2 separate regions of the Homo sapiens genome follow, and region 1 is linked to region 2. The links are contacts of gene promoters, found by promoter capture Hi-C in human tissues and cell types (Jung and others, 2019). All regions are on one chromosome and are shown on one strand. The core of a region is centred on a gene start or on the middle of the fragment in contact, and the rest is flanking DNA. Distances in the headings are between cores, read along the strand shown. Region 1 overlaps KASH5 (KASH domain containing 5). Region 2 holds the start of SLC6A16 (solute carrier family 6 member 16).

What was found. Contacts are between HindIII fragments. The study calls those that stand out against the background at their distance.
Region 1: a fragment that was not itself captured here is called in contact with the fragment with the promoter of SLC6A16 in region 2 in 2 of the 25 tissues and cell types used here (bladder and heart right ventricle).

What each region holds. Positions count from the first base shown.
Region 1 is chr19:49,399,877-49,402,703 of GRCh38, reverse strand. The region is part of intron 9 of KASH5 (KASH domain containing 5); the gene reads right to left. Among named protein-coding and RNA genes, the nearest start is that of KASH5, 13 kb to the right of the region's middle. The HindIII fragment of the contact is 8,336 bases long and covers 1-2,827 here.
Region 2 is chr19:49,323,551-49,326,443 of GRCh38, reverse strand. SLC6A16 (solute carrier family 6 member 16) reads left to right here and starts at 1,253. Exons shown (of 12, transcript NM_014037.3): 1 at 1,253-1,396. RefSeq lists an enhancer at 1-89. The HindIII fragment of the contact is 19,669 bases long and covers 1-2,598 here.

The sequences.
Region 1 (2,827 bases), core at 280-2,779, 76 kb before region 2:
ACAGAGTCTCGCTCTGTCACCCAGGCTAGAATGCGGTGGCACAATCTCAGCTCGCTGCAACCTCTGCCTCCTGGGTTCAAGTGATTCTCCTGCCTCAGCCTCTCAAGTAGCTGGGATTACAGACGCCTGCCACCACGCCTGGCTAATTTTTATATTTTTAGTAGAGGTGGGGTTTCACCATGTTGGTCAGGCTGGTTTCGAACTCCTGACCTCAAATGATCCACCCATCTCGGCCTCCCAAGATGCTGGGATTACAAGCGTGAGCCACTGTGCCTGGCCTTTCATTCTTTTATTTACTTTTTTTGTTTTTTTTTGTTTTATAGAGACGGGCTCTCACTATGTTGCCTAGGTTGGTCTCGAACTCCTGGCCTAGGCAATCTTGCTTTGGCCTCCCAAAGTGTTGGGATTACAGGTGTGAGCCACCATGCCCAGCCGGAAAGTTTTTCTTTTCCTTTTTTTTTTGAGACTGAGTCTTGCTCTGTCGCCCAGACTGGAGTACACTGGTACCATCTTGGCTCACTGCAACCTCTGCCTCCTGGGTTCAAGCGATTCTCCTGCCTCAGCCTCCCGAGTAGCTGGGATTACAGGTGTGTGCCACCACACCCGGCTGATTTTTTTATTTTTAGTAGAGATGGGGCTTCACCGTGTTGGCCAGGCTGGTCTCGAACTCCTGATCTCAGGTGATCCACCCACCTCGGCCTCCCAAAGTGCTGGGATTACAGGCGTGAGCCACTGCGCCTGGCAACTTTTTCATTCTTAAAAAGGGATGTTCTGAAAGAAACTGTCACATCCTGCTGCATTCCATGTCTCACATGGTACAGCCATCCTGCTGTGAGATTCCCATTGCCCCAAGGGGGTGAGTTTTCATGGAAGAGCCAGAAAATAGCAGAAAGATTTTGGATTTCAGTGTAAAAAACACTGCACATGTAGGACAAAGATATTTTTTGGGAATACATGATCTGTCTGGACTAGGCAGAGATCCTTAGAGCTGGGGGAGGAATGCAGGACAGACAGAGAAGAGAATAGGCTGAAAATGAGCCCAGAGTTTTCCCCTAACCCAGGGCTAGCTATGAGGGGTGGAGGGTATGGATGGAGAACCGCAGAGCCCTGGAAGTCTTGTGATCTGAGAGGCCTTGCGTGTACTTCCCAGAGCACTCTCAGAATCATCACGGTGTGAGAATAATAGAGATGCTACTTTCTTGTGAAAGCAAAGAGGCCTCACTGGTGGGTCCTCTCCAGACCTCTGCCCACCCCAGCCCTGTGTCCTCCAGTCTGTCAAGGCCTGGGTGGGGTTTGGGATCCTTCAGGGAAATGAGTGACGGACAGGGACTTTGCTAACAGCTCAGGGAGAACAGAGGAATCTCTCTCCTGTTTCTCTTTCCCCAGAGAAGCCACATCTCCCCACCATGAGCACCCACCCTGGCCTGGGGAAATGAGGCAGGGGCTTTGGGCAGTGACCCCAGCCTCTTCCCTTTCACAGGAAAGTAGCCAAATCACCTCCCTGGCTCTGGAAGGGTGTGGAAGTGGTGGAGTAAGAGTCCCAGCCCAGATAAGGGATCACCACCAGAAGATGAAGAAGATGGTATGTCCAGAGATCCAAAGGCAATGCGGGCCTCACAGTAGATGCCAGCACACAGTGGTGACAAACGCTTGGACAAAACCCATCAATCTCATGAACAGCAGAGAGGAGAAACATTGAGTGAGGATCAGCAGCCTCCTAGAGCACTAGGCTCCTGCATCAGTCTCCTGCAACTTAGATACCACCTTGAGGTCGGGGGTGGTGACAGGTTTCATTGTCAATTGATGAGTTTGTTTCAATCTAAAAAAAATTAGGTGGGCCCAGAATGAACTAAGATGATGTTTTTCTGTCTTGGATGGAACGGGGCTTGAATTAAATGTGAAGCTGAACTCAGTCTCTTCATATTGTTTGCTAGTCCCTCAGTGAAATGCTGTCAATCCTCAAAACAAGCCTACTGAACAGATACCCTTCTTCCAGTTCTTTGAAAATAAAAGTAGGTCAGGTGTGGTGGCTCATGTCTGTAATCCCAGCATTTTGGGAGGCTGAGGTGGGCAGATCACCTGAGGTCGGGAGTTTGAGACCAGCCTGACCAACATGGAAAAACCCCGTCTCTACTAAAACAAACAAACCAACCAACCAACAAAAAAACAAAATTAGCCAGGTGTGGTGGCACATGCCTGTAATCCCAGCTACTTGGGAGGCTGAGGCAGAAGAATCACTTGAACCGGGAGACGGTGGTTGCCATGAGGTAAGATCGCGCCATTCCACTCCAGCCTGGGCAACAAGAATGAAACTCTGTCTCAAAAAAAAAAAAAAGAAAAAAAAAAAAAAGAAACTAAAAGTAAAGGCTTGAGAAGGAGAAGTCACATGCTTAAAGGTTGCCTATTGTGTAAGTGGCGGAGATGGGATTTGAACTCAAGGTTGACTTCAAATCCAATTTTTTTTTTTTTTTTTTTTTTGAGAGGCTCTCGCTCTGTCATCCAGGCTGGAATGCCATGATGCAATCTTGGCTCACTGCAACCTCTGTCTCCCGGGCTCGTGCAGTCTTTCCACCTCAGCCTCCTGAGTGGCTGGACTACAGGTGCACACTACCATGCCTGGCTTATTTTTCTATTTTTTGTAGAGGCAAGGTTTTGCCATGTTGCCCGGGATGGTCTCGAACTCCTAGGCTAAAGGGGTCCACCCAGCTAGGCCTCCCGAAGTGCTGGGATTCCAGGCATGAGCCACTGTGCCTGGCTGTTTTATTCACTGTAAAAAATACTAATATAGAAACAATGCTAGATAACTTTTAGTGAGCACATCCTATGT
Region 2 (2,893 bases), core at 4-2,503:
GGGGCTCTTGAAACACTTTTGGGGGTCCATGAGGTGAACATTATTTTCATAATACTACTAAGATATTATTTGCCTTTCACTTTCATTTCCTCTTTGAATATAGTGATGTTTGCCAGAAGCTACAAGACATGAGCTATTTTGACACACTCAGTGCAGAAGCAGATATGAGAATCCAGCTGTCTTCTATGAAGCCAGACATTAGAGAGATTTGCAAAAATGTAAAATGATGCCATTCTTCTCCCCAAATTTTTTCTTTTTTTTCCTTTTTTTTTTTGAGACGGAGTCTTGCTCTGTTGTCTAGGCTGGAGTGCAGTGGCAAAATCTCGGCTCATTGCAACCTCTGCCTCCTGGGTTCCAACGATTCTCCTGCCTCAGGCTCCCGAGTAGCTGGGATTACAGGTGTGTGCCACCACGCCCGGCTAATTTTTTTTTTTTTTGACTTTTAGTAGAGACGGGGTTTCATCATGTTGGCCAAGCTAGTCTCGAACTCCTGACCTCGTGATCCACCCGCCTTGGCCTCCCAAAGTGCTGGGATTACAGGCGTCAGCCACCGCGCCCAGCGCCAAAATTTCTTTTGGAGTAGAAATTATAGTTATTTTAAATAAAAATGTTATTTTGACACATAATGAATTTTTAAACAATGACTATTTTAGAAATTTATTTTAATATTGATAGATACAACTCACATAAACATACAACCCATATAAATGTAACTCATAAATTATTGGAGTCCTTAATAATTCTTAAGAGACCGGAAAGTATGAGAACGGATGACCTAAGTAAATCTTTGAGTTTTTAATTCTTGTCTGCAGCCCTAGTAGGCTTCTGAGCTCTCTTAAGGCAACGTCCCTGTCTGCCTTGTTGGACGCATATTTAAGGTTTGGTTTCTAGTAGGCGATCTTTAAGTAAATGCGAAAGGTTTGAAGGCTAGAAGGAATGAATGAGACGATTCTCCCACTTCCTACCCTCTTCTTCCTTACATGAAGTGGAAGCAAAGTGCATGTGCCAGAGAAAGGCCTTGTCTTAGAGCCCCGCCTGAAGCGTGGCATCGTGGGTGTCGGGGTGGGGTGCGGTGGGGAAGGGAGTGGCGCGTGAGCAGTCAGAGGATGTGCACACGTGCGTGCGTGTGGGGAGAGAGCAGGGAGTTGGGGAGGGCGAAGTGGTTACAGTGTTTGCTACAGCTGTAGGGAAAGAGTGAGGGGGCGCGGCGGCGCATGCGCAGAGAATCGGCGGGAAAGGCCGCGCGCCAGGCAGATCGAGGGGTGTCGCCCAAACCGATCTGTCGACGCCTGAAGGGGCCTGAGGAGATTGCTAGGCTTCTCAGCTGGGGCTTCTTCACCCTCATTTTTGTCCGACTGGCTGGACTGAAGAACCTGGCAGAAGCCTTGGGGCTAGGGTGAGGGTCACGGCCCAGGGAGCCCTAAAATGTTCCCACATCTGGGGTGTGTGGGGCTGGGCGCCATTTTCGAGGCCCGGGCCCACTGGGCTCCACTGACGGGTGACAGGTGACTGGCTGGGAGCCTCCTGGTTGCCCTGGGCTCTGTGGAGCTGAGGGATCAAAGGGGTCCCTCCTTTACCCCCCACGTAGGACAGAGGAAACTGTCTTCGGCTCTCCTCACTCATCCAGTCCGAGTTTGAGCCAATTCCTTGACAGGATTCGGCCATCAGTCCCTGCCTTTGGGGAAAGCCATCAGTGTCAAGTGCCCGAGTGGCAGAAACCCGGGTCTAGCCCCATCACTGGTCTGTTAGGGCAGTTATTTTCTGCTTTTTGCAGAAATGGGACACCAGCTCCTTATTTTCCTTTTCTGGAGGTTATAGTTCCAGGGAAGGAGGTAATGTGAGGGGAATGGGCATTTCTGGGGGATCCTGAGCACTCCCCACAGGGCATGAGCCTAGGAGTTGCTTGGGATGACGGTGTAGGGGCACCATGGAGGGTTGCACCCATATGGGAAGAGGAGTCCGCCTGGGGCTCAAGGGGCTTTATGGATGTTGGAAGTGGCCAGCTGGCCAAAACTCAGTTCTCTCCCTTCCGTAAAGCTTGCTTTTAAGGACAACTGTTCTAGAATGTGTTTAAGAAACATGAATCTATTATTTTTTATTTATTTATTTATTTGAGATGGAGTCCCACTCTGTCACCCAGGCTGGAGTGCAGTGGCACGATCTCAGCTCACTGCAACCTCTGCTTCCCAGGTTCAAGCGATTCTCCTGCCTCAGCCTCCCAAGTAGCTGGGACTATAGGCGTGCGCCACCACCCCCAGCTAATTTTTTGTATTTTTAGTAGAAACGGGGTTTCACTGTGTTGGCCTGGCTGGTCTCGAGCTCCTGACCTCAGCCGATCCACCCGCCTCAGCTTCCTAAAGTGCTGAGATTACAGGTGTGAACCCCCGTGCCCAGCCTATTATTATTATTTTTAAGAGACAGGGTCTCTCTCTGTCTCCCAGGCTGGAGTCCAGTGGCATGATCACCTCTCACTACAGCCTCGAACTTCTGGGCTCAAGCAATCCTTCCACCTCAGCCTTTCAAAGAGCTGGGATTACAGGCTGAGCCACTGGAGGCTTGGTTTTCACTTATTTTGGGTGTATACCCAGAAGTGGAATTGCTGGATCATATGGTAATTCTATTTTTAAGTTTTTGAGGAACCACCATAGTGTTTTCCATGGTGGTTGCACCATTTTACATTCTGACCAGCAAGGCACAAGGATTCCAATTTCTCCACATCCTCACCAACACTTCTTATTTTCTGCCTTTTTATATTAGCCATCCTAATGGATGCGAGGTATTATCTCATTGTAGTTTTCATTTGCATTTCCTTAATGATTAGTGACGTTGAACATCTTTTCATGTACTTCTTGGAGATTGGTATATCTTCCTTGGAGAAATGTCTATTTAAGTC